Linked DNA regions of Homo sapiens: regions 1 and 3 are each linked to region 2. The links are contacts of gene promoters, found by promoter capture Hi-C in blood cells and fetal thymus (Javierre and others, 2016). All regions are on one chromosome and are shown on one strand. The core of a region is centred on a gene start or on the middle of the fragment in contact, and the rest is flanking DNA. Distances in the headings are between cores, read along the strand shown. Region 1 overlaps PPP1R12C (protein phosphatase 1 regulatory subunit 12C). Region 2 holds the start of BRSK1 (BR serine/threonine kinase 1). Region 3 overlaps LOC105372462 (a long non-coding RNA gene).

Evidence for each region. Contacts are between HindIII fragments. The CHiCAGO score rates a contact against its expected background, and 5 or more counts as called.
Region 1: a contact is called between a fragment that was not itself captured here and the fragment with the promoter of BRSK1 in region 2, in 4 of 17 cell types (erythroblasts, total CD8 T cells, naive CD8 T cells and 1 more). The highest score is 7.4, in erythroblasts.
Region 3: a contact is called between a fragment that was not itself captured here and the fragment with the promoter of BRSK1 in region 2, in 16 of 17 cell types (M0 macrophages, M1 macrophages, M2 macrophages and 13 more). The highest score is 25.6, in M0 macrophages.

Annotation. Positions count from the first base shown.
Region 1 is chr19:55,109,493-55,112,879 of GRCh38, forward strand. It overlaps PPP1R12C (protein phosphatase 1 regulatory subunit 12C), which reads right to left. Exons shown (of 22, transcript NM_017607.4): 2 at 3,173-3,303; 3 at 2,975-3,093. Among named protein-coding and RNA genes, the nearest start is that of PPP1R12C, 6.5 kb to the right of the region's middle. The HindIII fragment of the contact is 402 bases long and covers 1,937-2,338 here.
Region 2 is chr19:55,282,442-55,285,843 of GRCh38, forward strand. BRSK1 (BR serine/threonine kinase 1) reads left to right here and starts at 1,556. Exons shown (of 19, transcript NM_032430.2): 1 at 1,556-2,137. The coding sequence starts at 2,002. The HindIII fragment of the contact is 8,428 bases long and covers 850-3,402 here.
Region 3 is chr19:55,424,061-55,427,283 of GRCh38, forward strand. It overlaps LOC105372462 (a long non-coding RNA gene), which reads left to right. Exons shown (of 3, transcript XR_936075.3): 3 at 2,392-2,668. Among named protein-coding and RNA genes, the nearest start is that of SHISA7, 18 kb to the right of the region's middle. The HindIII fragment of the contact is 1,554 bases long and covers 893-2,446 here.

The DNA.
Region 1 (3,387 bases), core at 888-3,387, 170 kb before region 2:
GACTTTGCGGTGTTGGAGGGAGCGGTGGCTCCAGGCCACGAGGTGACTGGCTGAGCAGATCACGTGCTCTCACTGAACCCCAGACCCAGAGAGAGGAAAACAGCAAGTAAGCCAGGGAAAGCGAAGGGGATGGTCGTGCCTGAGGCCGGTCTGTCTTCTCTCCCAGCCCTGCCTGTGAGTGGCTGCCAGGGCCACACTATGGCCAGAGCCAGTCTGGATGCCAGCACCTCGGGGAATTCTGCATCATGTGGGCGTGTCCTGCAGGGGGTGCAAAAGACCCGCCCTCCTTAGAGCTGGGGTGCAGCCTGTGATCCAGGTCCTGCGCACTGCAGCCCCTCTGAGGCTCCTGTGTGGAGCCGGGTGTCACAGGGTGTCACAGGCAGTCGCCTTGTGATTTGGGGCCGCAGAGTCCCACCCCGAGCAGCACGGCTGAGGGTCTTTCCAGTGGCCCCAGTGGTCTTCGTTCCTGGCTGATCCTACAAGCCAATATCCCCCACCAATGTATCCCTCCCAGCCTTCTCCTCACCCCACGGGAGGGAAGAAGCATGGCCCCCTCTGAGAAGCTGATGCAAGTTATGAGCAATTTCTGCAGGAAAATACAACGTCAGAAAGTTCACAGACCCCCTGGAGGCCATTCCCGGCCTCCCTGGGGTCCAAGGGAAAAGGAGGACTGATCCAGACAGAGGGAGCCTAAATCACCCAGATCTGGATCCCTAGCTGGGCCCTGAACCAGAGCGGGAGAGGCTACAAAGAATGTCAAGGAGAAACGCAGGCAACAGTGTAGCATCAAGGTTGGTGCAGTGGGTGAGAGTGTAGCATCAAGGTTGGTGCGGTGGGTGAGAGTGTAGCATCAAGGTTGGTGCGGTGGGTGAGAGTGTAGCATCAAGGTTGGTGCGGTGGGTGAGAGTGTAGCATCAAGGTTGGTGCGGTGGGTGAGAGTGTAGCATCAAGGTTGGTGCGGTGGGTGAGAGTGTAGCATCAAGGTCAACACAGGGGGTAGCGTGTTGCATCCCTACTGTGGTTCTGCAGGAGGTTTTCCTTGTGGCAGGAGATACCTGCTGTGCATCAGGCGAAGATGTACAATGCCTGCAACACAGTCTCAGAATGGCCGGGCTCACGCCTGTAATCCCAACACTTTGCGAGGCCGAGGCCAGCAGATCGCCTGAGGTCAGGAGTTGGAGACCAGCCTGGTCAACATGGTGAAACCCCATCTCTATTAAAAATGCAAAATTAGCTGGGCATGCTGGCTCACGCCTGTAATCTCAGCTACCCAGAAGCTGAGGCAGGAGAATCGCTTGAACCCAGGAGGTGGAGGTTGCAGTGAGCCGAAATCATGCCATTGCACTCCAGCCTGGGCAAAAAGTGAAACTCTGTTTCAAAAAAAAAAAAAAGGCTCAGGAATGGAAAGGCAGGGGTGGGGTGGTAAGAAAGGAAGGGAGAGATGGAGGGAAAAAAACAGGAGGAGAAAGGATAGGAAAAAATGTGTTTATGTCTATACCTGGGAAGAGATCGCAAGGGAGGGACAGAGAGAAGGAACACAAATCTATCAAAAAGTTAAAAGCTGATGATTCTATACTGTATGATTCCCTTTATGTGAAGTGTACAAAACAGCAAATCCACAGACAGAAGGCAGAGAGGGCTTCGTGGGGTGGGGGGGAGGGGGGGGTGCATGGTTGGGGGTGATGGCTAAGCGGTTGCAGGGTTTCGTTGGGGGATGATGAAAATGTTCTACAACCAATGTGGTCATAAATGCCCGACCCCGTGAATAGACTAAAAAGCACTGAAGTGTGCACTTTGGGTGAATTGTAGGGTAGGTGAATTACATCTCAAAAAGCTGTCTAAAAAACAAAAACAAAAAAGAAAAAGCACTGGCGAATCTTAGTGAAAGTCATATGGGTAGTCACATGCTATTGCTTCAACTTTTCTGTAAATCTGAAGCTTTCCCAAAATAAAAAGTTGGAGGAGGAAGGAGACAGAATCCAGGTCCAGGGCTGATTTGACCCACTCCCCATTTCAACCAAAGAGGGGCTCCCGAACCTCAGATCTCCGCCGTCACGTGTCCCACTAGCTAGTCCTCCCGCATGGCTCTCGTGGACCCCTGAACCCACGCGGAATCCTATCCTTTCAGCCTGGCCAGCGGCCCCGTCAGGACAGCCGCGTCAGAAGTCTCGGAGGCTGCCGGTATCTCATTTCCTCGTCAGTCTCCCTTTCCTTCCACACGGTCCCCTGGAGTCTGCCGGGAACCATGCTCACACCCTTCCACTCCAACCCAGCCAGACCCTGACAACCACCCCATGAAGCGGCACCAGTGGTCCTGTTTTAGGAAATCAGGGAAGCAAGCTTCAGGGACGTGCCTGGAGTCACCAGTCACAGGCAGAGCTGGGAGGCAAGCCCAGGACTTTAGAAGACATGCTGGGGACCCAGGGATCCTGTGTGGCCATCACACACCTGCTAGAAGCAACACCCCTTCCCTAGAAAAATGAACCTGGCCAGACACAGTTTCAGGGGCTCCTGGACCCCATATGAAGGCTCCTGGGGTACGATGAGTCTCAGAGGACAGGGAGACCAGTCCCTGGCAACCCCTGCATGCCCCTACTCCCCCCCAAGTAAACGCATCCCCTCCCAGAAAGACCTGCGGCAGGGTTCCAGCAATCCTACCTAACGCACTCCTGGGTGAGTCCCTCCACCCACCCACCCCGCCCCGGCATTCCAATCCCCTCAGTTACTCAGGGGGATTGACAGTCCCAGTTGGTAGGGGTTTGAGTTCTCATCCTGTGCGTGTGCTGGGCTCCAAGCAATCCTGGAGGCAGGCCCCTACACCCCCATTTCACAGGTGAGGAAACTGAGGCACAAAGAAAGACAATCCTAGGAAGCAGGGTCAGCCTCGGTGCCCAGGCCGCCTCTAAAGCTCTCAGCCTGGAGACCACGGGTGAGGAGGTGTCCCCCACCCCACACACAGCACACCAGAGCCCACCTCGGCGGGCGATCTCCGCCTTCAGCAGCCCCTCCATGGCGTCCGACTCGGCCAGGTCCAGGGGCAGGTCCCCGTCACTGTTGACGGCGGCGATGTTGGCCCCGTGGCTCAGGAGGTACCTGGGGGTGGGGGCTGGTCAGGGCTGAGGGTCCAGGCCCCCACCCCGACCAGGTCCTGCCCGGCCCTCCCTTGCCTCACCTGGCGATATCTAGGTAGCCACAGGAGGCGGCCACGTGCAGTGGCGTCCAGCCCTCGTTGTCTGCCTGGTTCACAGTGGCGCCCTGCTCCACCAAGAAGCGCACCACCTCCAGGTTCTCATCAATGCAGGCCTGGGGGTGGGAAACAGCCGTCAGCCGCACCTACCCCAGCCACGGTGTCCCAGCAAGTCGGGACTCCAGAGGGAGCCACGAAAA
Region 2 (3,402 bases), core at 306-2,805:
CGCCTAAAATTGTACCCTGCTCAACAGGCCCCTCTTAACCCCCTTCCCTGCTGTAGTCACCTCCTCAGCACGGACATGATTATCTAACACACCATACATTTTGCCTATTGACCTTGCTGATCATCTGTTTCATCCACCAGCATGGAAGCTCCACAGGACAGGCCTTTTTGCTGATTTAGGTCACTGCCACGTTCTTACCAACAGGAACAGTGCCTGGCTGAGATTTGGCACTCATTAAAGATGTGTGGACTCAAGGTGTTGAATGGGGGACTGGGAAATCTCACAGGAGCCAATAGGCTCCTGTGTGCACTTTATTTTATTTTATTTTTGTTAGAGACAGGGCCTCACTCTGTTGCTCAGGCTGGAGTGCAGTGGTGCAAACGTAGCTCACTGCAGCCTAGAACTCACTGACTCAAGCCTCAGCCTCCCAAGTAGCTGGGACTACAGGCACATGCCACCATGCCCGGCTAATTTTTAAAAAAATTTTTGTAGGGATGGGGTCTCACTGTGTTGCCCAGGCTGATCTTCCCACCTCTGTCTCCCAAAGTATTGGGATTACAGGCATGAGCCACCTTGCCCAGCCCTGGGTGTGCTTTACAGGGGACTTGAGAATTAAATGGGTGTCTAACACTTGCGGGTACATGACATAGAGGGATCTATGGTTTATGCGGAAAGCTAATGGGGGCAGGCGGGTTACTCACAGGCAGAGCACATGCTTGTGGACCTGCTACAGTGGGGATGTATGGGCTGTACTGGGGTCCACATGAAGATATAAAGGACCCTATGACGAGCACAGAGAATATATGGGGGTCTAAAAACATAACACAGGGAAACTGAGGGGGTTCTGGAAGCTTCTCTGTAAAGAGAATCCAAAATCACTCTGGGCTGTGGGTAGATATGGGGCCTTGACATTGGTGGGGACACAGACTTACCCTTACCCTGAATGGGTGGCCTTAGGGGGCTGGGGAAACAGACATGAATTTTGGGTCAGCAACTCCAAGAATTCTTTCCCCTCTCTGTCTCTGTCTCCCTCCATATGTCCCCACCTCTCCCCAGCACGTGTCCCTCCACCTGTGTGTACCCCCGGCCCTCTCTACAGCTCCATCTGCGCCCCCTCTCCCCCACCTCTCTGGTTGGTCTTCCTCTCTCTGTCTCTCTGAATCTCTGACTCTCTCCATCCCTCTGTCGGCTTCCAGCAGCTTTCTCTCCCTCTCCCTGTCTGTTTTCCCGGCTTGCCATTCCTTCCTTCTCTTCTGTCCCTGTCCATCTCTGCCCTTCCTCCCTCTCTGCCTCAGCCTGTCTCTGGTGGTCTCCATCCCTCTGGCGTCTCTGCCTGTCTCCCGTCTCTGTGTCAGCCAGCATCTCTCTTTGTGTATCTCCATCTCTGCCCCATCTGTTGGGTCCTCTCTCTCTCTCTCCATCCTTCCCTCCATCCTCTCTCCTGCATCCTCCCACCTCCTCTCCATCCCTCCAGCTGGAGGCCCGCCCCCTGCCCCCCCTCGCTCCCCCTCCCCCCTCCGAAAGGGTTAACTTTGGGGAAGGGCCCGGAGTCCCCGGATGGTGATGTCAGCGTGCCGGAGAGAAAGGACGAGGTGGCGGGGGGAGGCGGAGAGGAGGAGGAGGCGGAGGAGAGAGGGCGCGTGGGGGGGCGGGGGGGACCTCGGCCTGCAGCATCCGCCGGCCCGCACCTCAGACCCCCCCGGCGGGGGGAGGCGCAGGAAGCGGGGGGCCGGCCAGAAACGGGCTGGGGAGGGGGGGCCCCGCAGCCCCCCTGGGCCATGCTGACTCCCGGGGCCTGACCCCCCCGGGCCAGCCCCCCCTCCCCCAGCTCCGCGGCCCGCCGACTGGGGGGGGCCAGCCCAGCCCCCTGGGGACCCCCGGAGAGGTGGGGGGCAGCCGGGGGGGCCGGGACGGAGCGGTCGCCGGCCCCCACCGGAGAGACGGGGCGACGGCCGCAGGGGGGGCGGCCGGGGGACCGGTCGGGCCGGGACCAAGGGCACCATGTCGTCCGGGGCCAAGGAGGGAGGTGGGGGCTCTCCCGCCTACCACCTCCCCCACCCCCACCCCCACCCACCCCAGCACGCCCAATATGTGGGCCCCTATCGGCTGGAGAAGACGCTGGGCAAAGGACAGACAGGTGAGCCTAGCAGAAGGGGACACCTGGGGCGGGGGGCAGGGTGGAGGTGGCGGCAGAGGCGGGACTCAGGGTATTCAAATGGCAGGGGCTGGCTGCCCAGACCCCTGGGCCCCTCATAGAGAAGGGACTTGGGATTCAGACTCCTGGGTCCCTGGATGGAGGGGGTGGGGGGCGCAGACTCAGGTCCTGGAGGAGAGGGGCTGGGGGCCTGGACTCCTGGGTCTGAGGGAGGAGGGGCTGGGCACTGGACTCCTAGGTCTGAGGGAGGAGGGCCTGGGGGCCTGGACTCCTGGGTTTCAGGGAGGAGGGCCTGGGGGTCTGGACTCCTGGGTTTCAGGGAGGAGGGGCTGTGCTTGGACTCCGGAGTCTGAGGGAGGAGAGGCTGGTGGCCTGCACTCCTGGGTCTGAAGGAGAAGGGCTTGGGGGCCTGGACTCCAGGGTCTGAGGGAGGAGGGGCTGGGGGTCTGGACTTCTGGGTCTGAGGGAGGAGGGGACTGGGGTCCTGGACTTTTGGGTTTGAGGGAGGAGGGACTGCGGTCCTGGACTTTCAGGTCTGAGGGAGGAGGGCCTGGGGGCCTGGACTCCTGAGTATGAAGGAAGAGGGTCTGGGGTCTGGACTCCTGGGTCTGAGGGAGGAGGGGCAGGGGTGCTGAACTCCTGGGTCTGAAGGAGGAGGGGCTGGGGGCCTGGACTCCTGAGTCTGAGGGAGGAGGGCGGTCGGAACCTTGAGTGTTGGGACAGGGAGTTTGGGGCCCCAGTGCTCCAGTCCCCATAGGGGCAGAGGCTGGAGGGGCTCCAGGGCCAGGGAGGGGATGGAGGCGGCCTGCAGAGTGGGGCCGGGCTGGGACCTGAGGTTCTTGCTGCAGTACAGCTGCAGACCGGGGTGCAGTGCATCCATCCTGGGAAACCTCTTCCCTCCCCACTGTCCTCTGGCCTCCAGTTCTCCAGGCAGCAGGTTGGGGTGACAGGGGCCGTGGGGCCTAAGACATTCTCCCCTTCTCTGGCATGCTGGCTCAGAGTGGGAAACAGGATGGAGGGTGGGAAGGTGGGCTGCAGCAGGCGCGTCTCCTGGAGCGGCTGTGGAAAGGGCGTTCATCCTCTGCTGTTGCTGAACGCTGGCCACCGGCCGCGGCCTCCTTCCTGCCGGATGGATGGTGGGTGGAGGTGACATGGGAGCTGAACGCCCAGAGTCTCTATGAAGCTCAGGGCCAGAGCTGGCAGGAGTGGGGACCGACTGGGCCGTAACTGGGAGCTGAGACCCTAGG
Region 3 (3,223 bases), core at 420-2,919, 140 kb after region 2:
GCCAGATTCCCATCTCTACATTTATATTTTTTTAAATTCTTTTTTCTTTCTTTTCTGTTAATTAATTAATTAATTAATTTATTTATTTATTAGGCAGAGTCTCACTCTGCCAGCCAGGCTGGAGTGCAGTGGCACGATCTTGGCGATCTCAGCGATCTTGGCTCACTGCAACCTCCTCCTCCTGAGTTCAAGCGATTCTCCTGCTGCAGAATTTAAAAATTCTATTAAAAAAAAAAAGTAGGGCCAGGCATGGTGGCTCATGCCTGTAATCCCAGCACTTTGGGAGGCCGAGGTGGGCAGATTATCTGAGGTCAGGAGTTCGAGACCAGCCTGGCCAATGTGGCGAAACCCCGTCTCTAGTAAAAATACAAAAATTAGCTGGGGGCCTGGTGGTGGGCACCTGTAATCCCAGCTAGTCAGGAGGCTGAGGATCACTTGGGGAATCAAGGCTGCAGTGAGCTGAGATTGCACCACTGCACTCCAGCCTCTGCAATAGAGCAACACCCTGTCTAAAAAACAAAACAAAACAGTAGAGAGTACACTTGCCGATACAAAAATCCAGAAGTGCAAAAGGGCATTTAGAAGTAAAAAGCCCCAGCCATCCAGTTCCCCTCTCCATAAGCAACCCTGTCAGCCAGAATGGGCTATGCTAGGCTGCAGTAACAAGTAGCCCCAAAGCCCTGGTTGTTAAAGCAACAAGAGTTTATTTCTCATTCGTGCTACATGTGCATCTGCGGCTGGTGGAGCCCCTATTTGGCATCATCCTTACTCTGGGGCCCTGGCTGATCTGCCTGGGACTCAGGCCAGCAGAGCAGCTATGACCTGAAATATGCCAGTGCCCATGGAGGAGGGAAAAGACAGAGCATGGGAGAACCACACCCTGTCTCTCACAAGCTTCTGCCTGGAAAGATACTTCTGCCCGCACTTCATAGGCCAAGGCAAGTCGCACGGGCACAGCTAACTTCGGGGGCAGGGAAATAGAATCCTACCATGTGCCCAGGAGGAGAATTGGAAATATTTGGTGCAGCAAATTTATATACAGATTCTGTTCCCCGCTCCTTTTACACAAATGGTAGCATTCATGCACACTATTCTATATCTTGCTTTCTTACTTAACAATAAACCTTGGAGACTATTTCACACTGGGTGATGTGGGCAACATCCAAGGCATCCTCATTCTCTTTTATACAGCTTACTTGCACTATTAAATTTCTGTTTCTCTTTCTATATATACAGTTGGGTGCAGATAAGTTAACTATACTTATGGCATAATGTCCTTCTATTATTAGATGAAAAAAGCAGGGGCCAGGTGCGCTGGCTGATGCCTATAATCCCAGTACTTCGGGAGGCCAAGGCAGGAGAATTACCTGAAGTCAGGAGTTCGAGACCAGCCTGGTGAACGTGATGAAACCTGGTCTCTACTAAAAATTCAAAAATTAGCTGGGCGTGGTGGCGCATGCCTGTAGTTCCAGCTACTCAGGAGGCTGAGGCACGAGAATTGCTTGAACCTGAGAGGCAGAGGTGGCAGTGAGCAGAGATCGCGCCATTGCATTCCAGCCTGGGAGACAGGGTGAGACTTTGTCTCAAAAAAAAAAAAAAAAAAAAAAAAAAAATGGGCCAGGCACGGTGGCTCACGCCTGTAATCCCAGCACTTTGGGAGGCTGAGGCGGGTGGATCACAAGGTCAGGAGTTCGAGACCAGCCTGATCAGTATGGTGAAACCCCATCTCTACTAAAAATACAAAAATTAGCAAGGCATGGTGGTGCGCACCTGTAGTACCAGCTACTAGGGAGGCTGAGGCAGGAGAATTGCTTGAACCTGGGAGGCGGGGGTTGCAGTGAGCCGAGATTGTGCCACTGCACTCCCGCCTGGGTGACAGAGCAAGACTCCATCTCAAAAAACAAAACAAAATAAAAAAAGAAGTAAAAGAAAAAAGAAGTTACAGAGCAGTCTATATATAGGAAGGCTGATTTGTAAAAAAAAAAAAATTGTTTTCATGTGGAAATTTCTAGAAGAAAACATAGCTAATGTAAACAGCATTTGACTCTAAGCAGTGAGAAATCAGGAGATCTCCATTTTGTTATCTCCTTCTCTGGATTTTCTAATTTTTTTTTCCCCTATAACAATCACTGTCATTGTGACAGTGCACTTGGTTGCCAGGAACAGAAGCCAAGAGAGGTTTGTGGGAGAACTGAGGGACTTCCATGGGTTCACTTGTTCCTCAAGAACAAGGACCTTGTTTGTGCCGTTCACTGTATTTTGTTGACTGAATTAGTGAACTGGCATAGCAGAAAATAAAATTCAACCGTGCCCCTTGGAGTCTCAAACTGGGGATGGGTAGTTGCTGCCTCATGGTATTTTTCTACCTCTCTTTTATCTGTGTCTCTCCAGTTCTCTTTCCAGAGTGATGCGCAAACAAACCCTCAGATGCAAGGTGAAAGCCTGAAGCTTAGAGACAAATATTTAGTTGCATCTAGGGAGAATTTTCCTAAAGTTCGTAAAATTGGTACATAGAGGAACCTCCCCTCCTGGCCAGAGTCTGCATCTGAGCACTAAGGTAAGGAGGCAACTCTCGTCAGCACTGTGCAAATGTTTTAATGCACTGGGTGGGAAAGGGAAGCAGGCAGGGAGAATGCTTCCTTTTTGTATTTTTTATTTTTGAGACAAAGTCTTGCTCTGTTGCCCAGGCTGGAATGCAGTGGTGCGATCTCAGCTCACTGCAACCTCTGCCTCCCGGGTTCAAGTGATTCTCCTGCCTCAGCCTCCCGAGTAGCTGGGACTACAGGTGCGCACCACCACATCCAGCTGATTTTTGTGTTTTTAGTAGAGACATGGTTTCACCACATTGGCCAGGCTCGTCTCAAACTCCTGACCTCAAGTAATCCTCCCACCTCAGCCTCCCACAGTGCTGGGATTACAGGCGTGAGCCACCACACCTGGCTATTTTTTACTTTTGAGACAGGGTCTCACTCTGCCCAGGCTGGAGTGTAGTGATGCAGTGATAGCTCACTGTAGCCTTGAACTCCTGACCTCAGGCGATCCACCTGCCTCGGCCTCCCAAAGTGCTGGAATTACAGGCATGAGCCACCACACCTGGCCTATTTTTAAATTTTTAGTAGAGATGAGGCCTTGCTATGTTGCCCAGGCTGGTCTTGAACTCCTGGCCTCAAGCAATCCTCATACCTCAGCCTCCCAAAGTGCTAGGATTATGGTTGTGGGCCAC